Linked DNA regions of Homo sapiens: region 1 is linked to region 2. Evidence: promoter capture Hi-C in 16 types of primary human blood cells and fetal thymus (Javierre and others, 2016). All regions are on one chromosome and are shown on one strand. The core of a region is centred on a gene start or on the middle of the fragment in contact, and the rest is flanking DNA. Distances in the headings are between cores, read along the strand shown.

Region 1 (4,128 bases), core at 132-2,631, 1.9 Mb after region 2:
GCCTTCACCAGCTCTCACCTGCAATATTGCAGTAACCTCCAAAGAAGTCTCCCTGCTTCTATCATTGCCTCATCCCCCATTATAATCTATTCTCCTATCTCCGAGTGATCTCTTTAAACATAAGCCAAGTCACTTCAAAACCCTGCAATGGCTTTGTTTCCCTCAAGAGTAAAAACCAAAATTCTTCCTATGGCCCTTTGTTCTCTCTCTGACCTTCTCTCGCTACTTTCTCCTTTGGTTACTTTCACTCAAGTCTCTGTATTTTCTAAATGTTCTTCAATAAGATACTGTTTTTTTAATTAATGAAGTTTTAAATGTAAAACTATGAAAGAGTAATCTAATCTGCCATTTTATCCAAATGTTTCCACTATTAGAACACGATTGTATAACAAGTCTGAGAAGAAAAACTAAGTAAATTTATGACAAGAGTTTATGGTGCCCTGAATGTCTACGTACCTAATGAAGACGTTGATACAGAGAAATCGTCTCAAAAAATCAAACGGTATGGTGAAATACCACAAGTTCTGGGTTTGGGATTGAAATATATTTCTTAAATCTTTTATTACTTACTAATTGTGATACCTTGACTAACTCACTATTCTCTGATTCAGTTTTCTTCTGTGTAAAGATGAAGTGGTCTGTAAAACCAAGAAACCTCGTGTTCTATAACAGGAACACCTTTATATAGCTACCCAAAAAAACACCTAAAAAGGCTGACTTATTCCTAAGAGTGTTATTGAACATTCTAGATTAATCTGCATATACAAAAGAATGCCAGAGAAGAAACCAAAATACCAAAAATATTTGGAGCCTGGTTGCGGACTGAATTTTATACAACTTTCAAAGACACTATTTGAGAGGCTGTCGTGTGTAGCCTACTAAGAAAAAACAGAGGGGTGGGGTGGCTCACTCTCTAGGAACCACAAACTTAAGGTTCCTAGAAAGAGCAGAGATTTTAAATATTCAGACTGTGTATGTATCATGACCCAGGGTTGGGGGCAGATGGCCCGGGGTGGCGGGGGAAAGGAGAGATGGCGGAGATCTTCTATCAGGCTATCCTGGGGAACTGCTCCAGGCTGAAACAAACCACCAGTTAGGACGAACCGCCTTTGATGTGAAAGCTGGGAAGCTAGAATGTAGTTTCGCCTTATCCTTAGCGGGTCGGTTCTAACAATTTTGTCACCCAAACTGAACCACTCACCGGGTCAACTGGGCTGCAAGCCCTTATGAGTTGGAGACAAGTGGCCCAGCCCCAACACAGTCAGACAAATCGCTGGGCGGCCATCTGCTCCTGAGACCGTTGCTAGAGAAACAAGACAACATCCAAGTTCTCCACATCATGGTTTTCCGGGCGCCAGCCAAGGCGCTCCGGGGGCGTGGTTACGTGGGCGACGCACGGAGGGGGCGGGTCAGAAACAACCGGGCGGAGGCGCACCCCAGGGCGCATGCGTGCTGTGCGGCGCGGTCTCAGGGAAGGTGGGGCTATGGCAGCTGCTAGGGACCCTCCGGAAGTATCGCTGCGAGAAGCCACCCAGCGAAAATTGCGGAGGTTTTCCGAGCTAAGAGGTACCAGAGAAGGCACCGGAGTTCTCCTGGGCAATGCAGAGGGAGGGTGCTTTTACGTGCCAGGAGGTTTGCTGGACTGTCACTTCCCGTTTACTTCTCATCTGTAGGCCTATGACGCTCCCCAGGAGTAGCTAGCTAATAATCCTTTTGAGTTTTTTATTCTTTTCACTGTCCCTGCTTGACATGCTTGTTGCTTACTTTATTCTTAGTAGTATAGATATTAAAAATGAGGGCGGAGGAAGAAGAAGAAAATCTTACTAGTGAAGTTATGCATTGATTAGCTCATTAATAAAAGTTGCTTTAAATAAATCTAAAAGATACGAAGCACAGTATTTTGAACTTTATGAGTAGATGCCAGCCCCCTATCTACTTCACGCTTTACATTACGTTCATCTACTTCTGTAATGTAACCGTTTGTTGAGGGAGTAACAGAACATGGAGGAATTATGGATTAAAAATTAAAAGGAAGAAATTTGTTATCAAAAAATTGGCTATGACACTTAATCCCTGTACACCTGTCTAATAAAAGTGATTATATTTGTGTTGCAGTGACTGCTTAAAAAATACTGGGACTAATTCTTGGATAACAGTAAAACTTTCAGGACTATTAGATTCTAGCTGACAAGTTCTGTTTGTTAACTAATTAAAATGCTAAATCATTTTGTTTATCAATAAAGAGATTCCAACTGTCTACTAAAAGTGCACACTGTCTTTTAAAGATGTCATCAGAGAGTTGGGACCTTCTGTTATCCAGAATTTTATGTTATATTCTAACAGCCTATGTAAGTTTGCATGGTTCATCTTAAAGTAATAGAAAATAAAGTACCCACATTTATAAACAGCAACATTGAGGGAAGGGATCTTTGGGTTGTGTCTTTCTTAGTCACCTAACACCAAGTGTCCGTGATACATAAGAATTGATTTGCAAAGCTGGAGATTTGTTTATGTTTATCTCCTCTTCTTATTGAAGAATTGAGGCAATAGTCTTTGGCAAGTTAAAAGTCGCTCTCTTAATCAAGAAACATTATGTCATTCAGAATTTATAATTAAATTGGATTGCAAACCATAAAAGGAGGGAGTGATCTAAAAGAAAAAAAAGGAACTTGTGAACAGTCTTCATTATAACTATTTTGAATCGTATTAATGCACCACTAATTATTCCCTAACTTTCAAAAGCCAAAGATACATTTTGGAAGATGATAATGGATATTACCTTCTTTATCATCTTTCTCAATAGGCAAACCTGTGGCAACTAGAAAATTCTGATAATTTTTGTTTTCATTTCCTTGCTTTTTCCAAATAGGCAAACTTGTAGCACGTGGAGAATTCTGGGACATAGTTGCAATAACAGCGGCTGATGAAAAACAGGAACTTGCTTACAACCAACAGCTGTCAGAAAAGCTGAAAAGAAAGGAGTTACCCCTTGGAGTTCAATATCACGTTTTTGTGGATCCTGCTGGAGCCAAAATTGGTACGCGCTTTATGGTCAGTTTTATAATATAGGTCCTAAGCAGAATAATCATTGAAGAAAAGGTTTCTGTGACTTACAGTGTATAAGCTGCATATCTCTACCCACAGCTTTACAAACTTTAAAATTTGAACATAAATTGACTTTTTTTAGAAAGATAAAAGGAATAGCAACTGTTCTTACCCATTATGACTTACCTTGAAAAACTTCCAGAATGTTACTTAAAAGAAAATTTTATTAGTTTTAATGAAATTCACACTATTCAGATAGGAATACTCCTTTGGACCTTATCAGTAGAACCCTTGAGGTCCTCTCCACTCCAGAGTTCCTCCAGCAATTTACATGAAGAAAGCAATTAGTGGGAAAAAATACTCTTGACCTCTTAGGGACATAATGCAGAATGCAAAAGAACACTGTCACATGGCTTAAATATAATACATATATTTGAAAACCCTAGTTTAGGTCAACTTTGCCCTTTGACCGTCCATTGCAAATAGAAATAAATGCTGTTTTTCTGAATGCTCTTTTCTATGTGATACTTAAAGTTGAAGCCCCCTGATACCAGAGATAAGATATCTGTATATGACATTAATATGACATTAGCATTATTCTAATTAGCCAACATTATTTTAATCCTTACAACTATGAGGTCAGTACTGTTATTATTTCTTTTTTTTTTTTTTTTTTTTTTTTTGAGAAGGAGTCTTGCTCTGTTGCCCAGGCTGGAGTGCAGTGGTGCGATCTTAGCTCACTCCAAGCTCCGCCTCCCAGGTTCAGGCCATTCTCCTGCCTCAGCCTCCCGAGTAGCTGGGACTACAGGTGACTGCCACCAGCCTGGCTAATTTTGTTTTTGTATTTTTTAGTAGAGACGGGGTTTCACCATGTTAGCCAGGACGGTCTGTATCTCCTGACCTCGTGATCCACCTGCCTCGGCCTCCCAAAGTGCTGGGATTACAGGCGTGATATTATTTCCATAGATGAGAATCTGAGGTACTCAAGAGTTAAGTAACTGGCCCAAGATAACTAGTGTGGTAGTTATATTTAAGATTTTTTTTTGGGAATCCAAGTTCTAAAAATCTTTTTTCGAAAGGAAC
Region 2 (3,831 bases), core at 551-3,050:
GTTCCAAAAGGTGTAAGTCATATACCACACCCACATCATTAAATTTAAATATGTTGCATGTTTCAAACAGAAACATTTCCCACTCTCTTTCACCTTAGACATGTCATGTACACTGATGTTGTGCAAGCCAGACTTACAAGCCAACTACCACCCAGTGGAGAAAAAGAAGATCTTTCAGGGAAATGTGAGGTGGGGTGGCAGGGGGAGAAGGGAGGGTGATGGGAAAGAAATGAAGGAATAGGGCGTTTAGCTTTGTTTAGATCTAAGCTTTGCTGATCATCCATTTATATTTTCATAGGAAATAAAATATTCCCAGACTCCCACTCTGCAGTGTTGCTTAGGGGTAAAATCAGGGTATGGATGTTTATTAATGACAAACCACCTCAGAGCTCAAGCTCAGAGGAAAGAAGGGAAAATGAGAAAAATAAGTAAAAGTGAAGACTGATGGAGGGAGGAAGGTAGGAATAAAAAGGGGATAGAAAGACACAGAAAGAGAAAAAGAGAGAAGCAGAGACAGAGTGAGAGCAGCGAGTGAGACAGGCAGTGTGTACACATGTGTGAGTGACAATGTGGAACAGAGAAGGAGAGTATGCCTTTTAAAAACAGTGAGAGACAATCTGAATGTGGAAGTGGTTCTTACAGCATGGAAGTGCCAGTGCATGTGAGGATGTGAGAGTATGTGAGTTAGTATGTTTATGGAAATAAGATTTATGAGGGTGAGTAAATGGTACTGGAGGGGAACAGTGACCATGCCTGTGTGTGCCACAGGGGTGGGAAACGGTATGGGGAGAGGGATGAGAAATGGGAGTCAAAAGAGGGAAGACAGGGCACAGGATAGGGACATTAAGGAGGAATAAAAAAAATAGACAAAAAGAAAAAAGGGTAAAAGAGAGGAGGAAAGGGGATTAAATGTGAGGAACAGAAATTAGAGTCGTGGAGATAAAAATGAGAAAATATGAGAAGAAATTTTAAAAAGGAGGGAAAAAACAGAAAATAGAAAAGGTATGAAAAGAGATATTGGAGGGAAAAAGAGTTACAAGGAGGTGGGGAAAATGGTATAAGAGAATGAGGAAGGAGAAAAGAAAGAAAACAGAAAGCGGTAAAAGGAAAGAAAGATAAAGAGCAAGAAATCGAGCCTAAGTGTCCAAGTGAGAGGGAAAATAAATGGGAGCAGAGAACAGCAGTTTGAAAGAGTCGCTTATGCTGGAGTAAAATAGAAACAAACCTGATAAACTTGTCAGACTCTCCAGGAGTACCCCATGACAGTAAAACAGAGACCTTGTGCATTGAGTTTCAAAGTGGCACCTGCCCCTCCTTCTAAACCTGACAGTTCACTCATCCCCAGGCTACTTGGCGTTCCGGCAAAGTGCTTTAGCATCACGAGTCCAGCTTGCTACCTGCCCCAGCATAAACGGGCCGGGGCTCCGGGAAGAATCTGCACCTGGAATTCTTGGGATGTGGTCTTTCCATGATGAGCACCACCAGCATTATTGCTTGTGTTATAAAGAAGGCAAAGAGGGTTCAAAGAGAGACAGAAAGATAGACCGAAACAAGTACGAAAAGCACGCCGTTCTTCCTACCTAAGCACCGCCGTGTCCCCTTTTCTGACCATCATGTTGTCCACGGCCGCCCAGGGGAAGTCCACACTCTGTCCAGCCGGGAGGCAGGAGGGTAGCAGGCAGCACAGGCTGAGGAGCACCGCCGCCAGCCACTGGTTCGAGCAACAAGCACCCTGCACCAACAGCATCATGTCCATCCCTGCTAGGGCTGCTCACTCTCCAGCAGCTTTCAGCTCGCACTCCCCCACCCCCTGGTGCTGGCGAGTCTTCCCGGGAACCAGGCGGCGCGCCACAGGATTTTTTTTTTTTTTTTTTTTTTTTTTTTTTTTTGGTGGGTGGGTGGGTTTCTTTTCTTTCTTTCTTCCCCCCACCCCAGTTGTTGGGTGTTGTTTCTCTCTTTTTGTTTTTCGGTGTTTTTGCCTCCCCTCCTCCTCTTCGCTTTCCCTCCCTCCCTCCCCTCCCTCCCCCTGGCACCACACTACACCTCCTCTCGGTTGCTTTTGGCCGCGTCCGGAGTGTGTCTAATTCTCGGGCGGCTCGCACACCATCTAGCGAGGAGGCGAGCGCGCCGGCGAGTGAGGGAGGAGGCGCGGCGGCGGGGGAGGAGGCAGGGCGAGCGGCGGCGGCGGCGGCTGCAATCCCAGCAGCAGCAGCAGCAACAGCAACAGCAGCAGCAGAAGCAGCGCGGAGCGCTGCGCCGGCCGCCGGCTCCCGGGCTCGCGCGCGTTGCCAAGCGGCCGTTTCCTTAGCAACCCCGCCAGGGGACTGGGGATGGAGAAGGGAGGGGGATTAAAAAAATAATAAAAAAAGAAAGAAAAAAGATAGCAAGAAAAAAAAAAGAAAAGCAAGACAACGAAAAAAAAAATAGGAGGAACTGTATCACAATTATGCAAACTAAGGGGGAAAGAGAGGCACCTTAGAATGAAGGCTCTCCTTACTGTCGTAAGCGCTAGAGGGATTCTTTGCTAGAAAAGTCTCCGTGTCAGGGCTGGGGTGAAGAGAGCTGAGGGGCGCTTTGCCTTCCCTCACCGGTGCGTTTTACCTCTCGAGGCACCGTAAGTTTGAAGTCCTCCAAGTTGTGGTCGGCGCCATCATGACGCCGGCGACTGTGAGTTGTTTTTTTGTTTATTTTCTTCTAATCTTGCCTGGGTGGCTACGCTGCAGTTAGCGAGCAGCCAACTAGTTCTCTCTGCGTTTTCTCGGGAATAGGTAGGGACGGTGGCGGGGCGCTGCTTTTTTGCGGGGACACGAGGAGGTGCAAGGCCTTGCGGCAGAGCAGCTTGCGTGTTTGTGGCGGTCGGCCCGTATGGATTGCAGGACGCCCCTCTTTTATCTGTGGGTGTTGACACTAAGTTGTGTGTGTGAGTAGGGGATTGTTTATGGTCAACATGGAGTGTGTGTGTGATAGAGAGCGTGTCGTGCGCGCGGGGGCCTGTGCACGCGCGGCACGCAGGCGCGCTGGGAGGGACGGGGCGGGTCATGCTGGGATGTAGAGTCGGGAAAAGACTGCAATCAAGTGTTTTAATTGTGTAGAGCCCAGGCGGTCCAGTTATGTAAGAGGCAGTTTAACCCATTTGAGCCTATCAGGCCGAATAATCGGCGCATCCGAGTCAAGGCAGGGCAGAGTTAAGGGGTTTAACGAGTCGCAGGGTTGTATTTCTTAACAGCCTCCACACCGCGTTAACAGGCTTGCTCCTCCGCGGTGCAGAGCGGTAACCTCCGCTTCCCCACGCAGCAGCCCCTCCGCAGCTCGCCGGGCTGTTTTCAGCCCTGCCCTGGCCCAAGGCAGAAGGAGATACTAGGCGTGGGGCCACCCCTACTCTTTTTTCTTCTTTCCTTCTTGAACTCATTTCCAGATTCAAGATCCTTAAGCTTTTCCGGGCCATTTGCAAATCAATGCGAGAACCGAGGCTGAGTCGTTAGCAGTTACACCAATCAATCTTGTTCAGCGAGGAGTTTGGGAAGCAGAGCGGGGAAGTGAAAATGGAAAATAAGTAATTAAAAAATAAGCTCCCTCCCCCTCACACACTTTTTCCCTTCCTCCACCCCATCCCCCTTTAGCAGTGTTTGAAGAAGATATTCTTTGCCAGATCCCAGTTCTTCTTTTGGAGGAAATGAAGCAAAACCTCACACGTCCGTAACTCGTTTTCCATAATGCTAGCAGGGTCATTTGGCAAAGCGCACCGAAGCAAGACTCTCTGCAGGGGTCAGCATCCGGCTGCCTCCGCAGACTGAGCTCTTTACGAGGCAGGCAGGGAGTCGTTTTGCTTGG

Evidence for each region. Contacts are between HindIII fragments. The CHiCAGO score rates a contact against its expected background, and 5 or more counts as called.
Region 1: a contact is called between the fragment with the promoter of LRRIQ3 here and the fragment with the promoter of NEGR1 in region 2, in 2 of 17 cell types (monocytes and fetal thymus). The highest score is 6.1, in monocytes.

What each region holds. Positions count from the first base shown.
Region 1 is chr1:74,196,795-74,200,922 of GRCh38, forward strand. LRRIQ3 (leucine rich repeats and IQ motif containing 3) reads right to left here and starts at 1,382. Exons shown (of 8, transcript NM_001105659.2): 1 at 1,202-1,382. FPGT-TNNI3K (FPGT-TNNI3K readthrough) reads left to right here and starts at 1,448. Exons shown (of 27, transcript NM_001112808.3): 1 at 1,448-1,566; 2 at 2,870-3,037. The coding sequence starts at 1,485. FPGT (fucose-1-phosphate guanylyltransferase) reads left to right here and starts at 1,448. Exons shown (of 4, transcript NM_003838.5): 1 at 1,448-1,566; 2 at 2,870-3,037. The coding sequence starts at 1,485. RefSeq lists a silencer at 1,286-1,385. The HindIII fragment of the contact is 8,918 bases long and covers 1-4,128 here.
Region 2 is chr1:72,280,739-72,284,569 of GRCh38, forward strand. It overlaps NEGR1 (neuronal growth regulator 1), which reads right to left and starts at 1,801. Exons shown (of 7, transcript NM_173808.3): 1 at 1,581-1,801. The coding sequence starts at 1,756. It overlaps LOC105378797 (a long non-coding RNA gene), which reads left to right and starts at 2,196. Exons shown (of 6, transcript XR_947506.3): 1 at 2,196-2,667. RefSeq lists silencers at 1,988-2,047, 2,148-2,237 and an enhancer at 3,619-3,831. The HindIII fragment of the contact is 3,164 bases long and covers 266-3,429 here.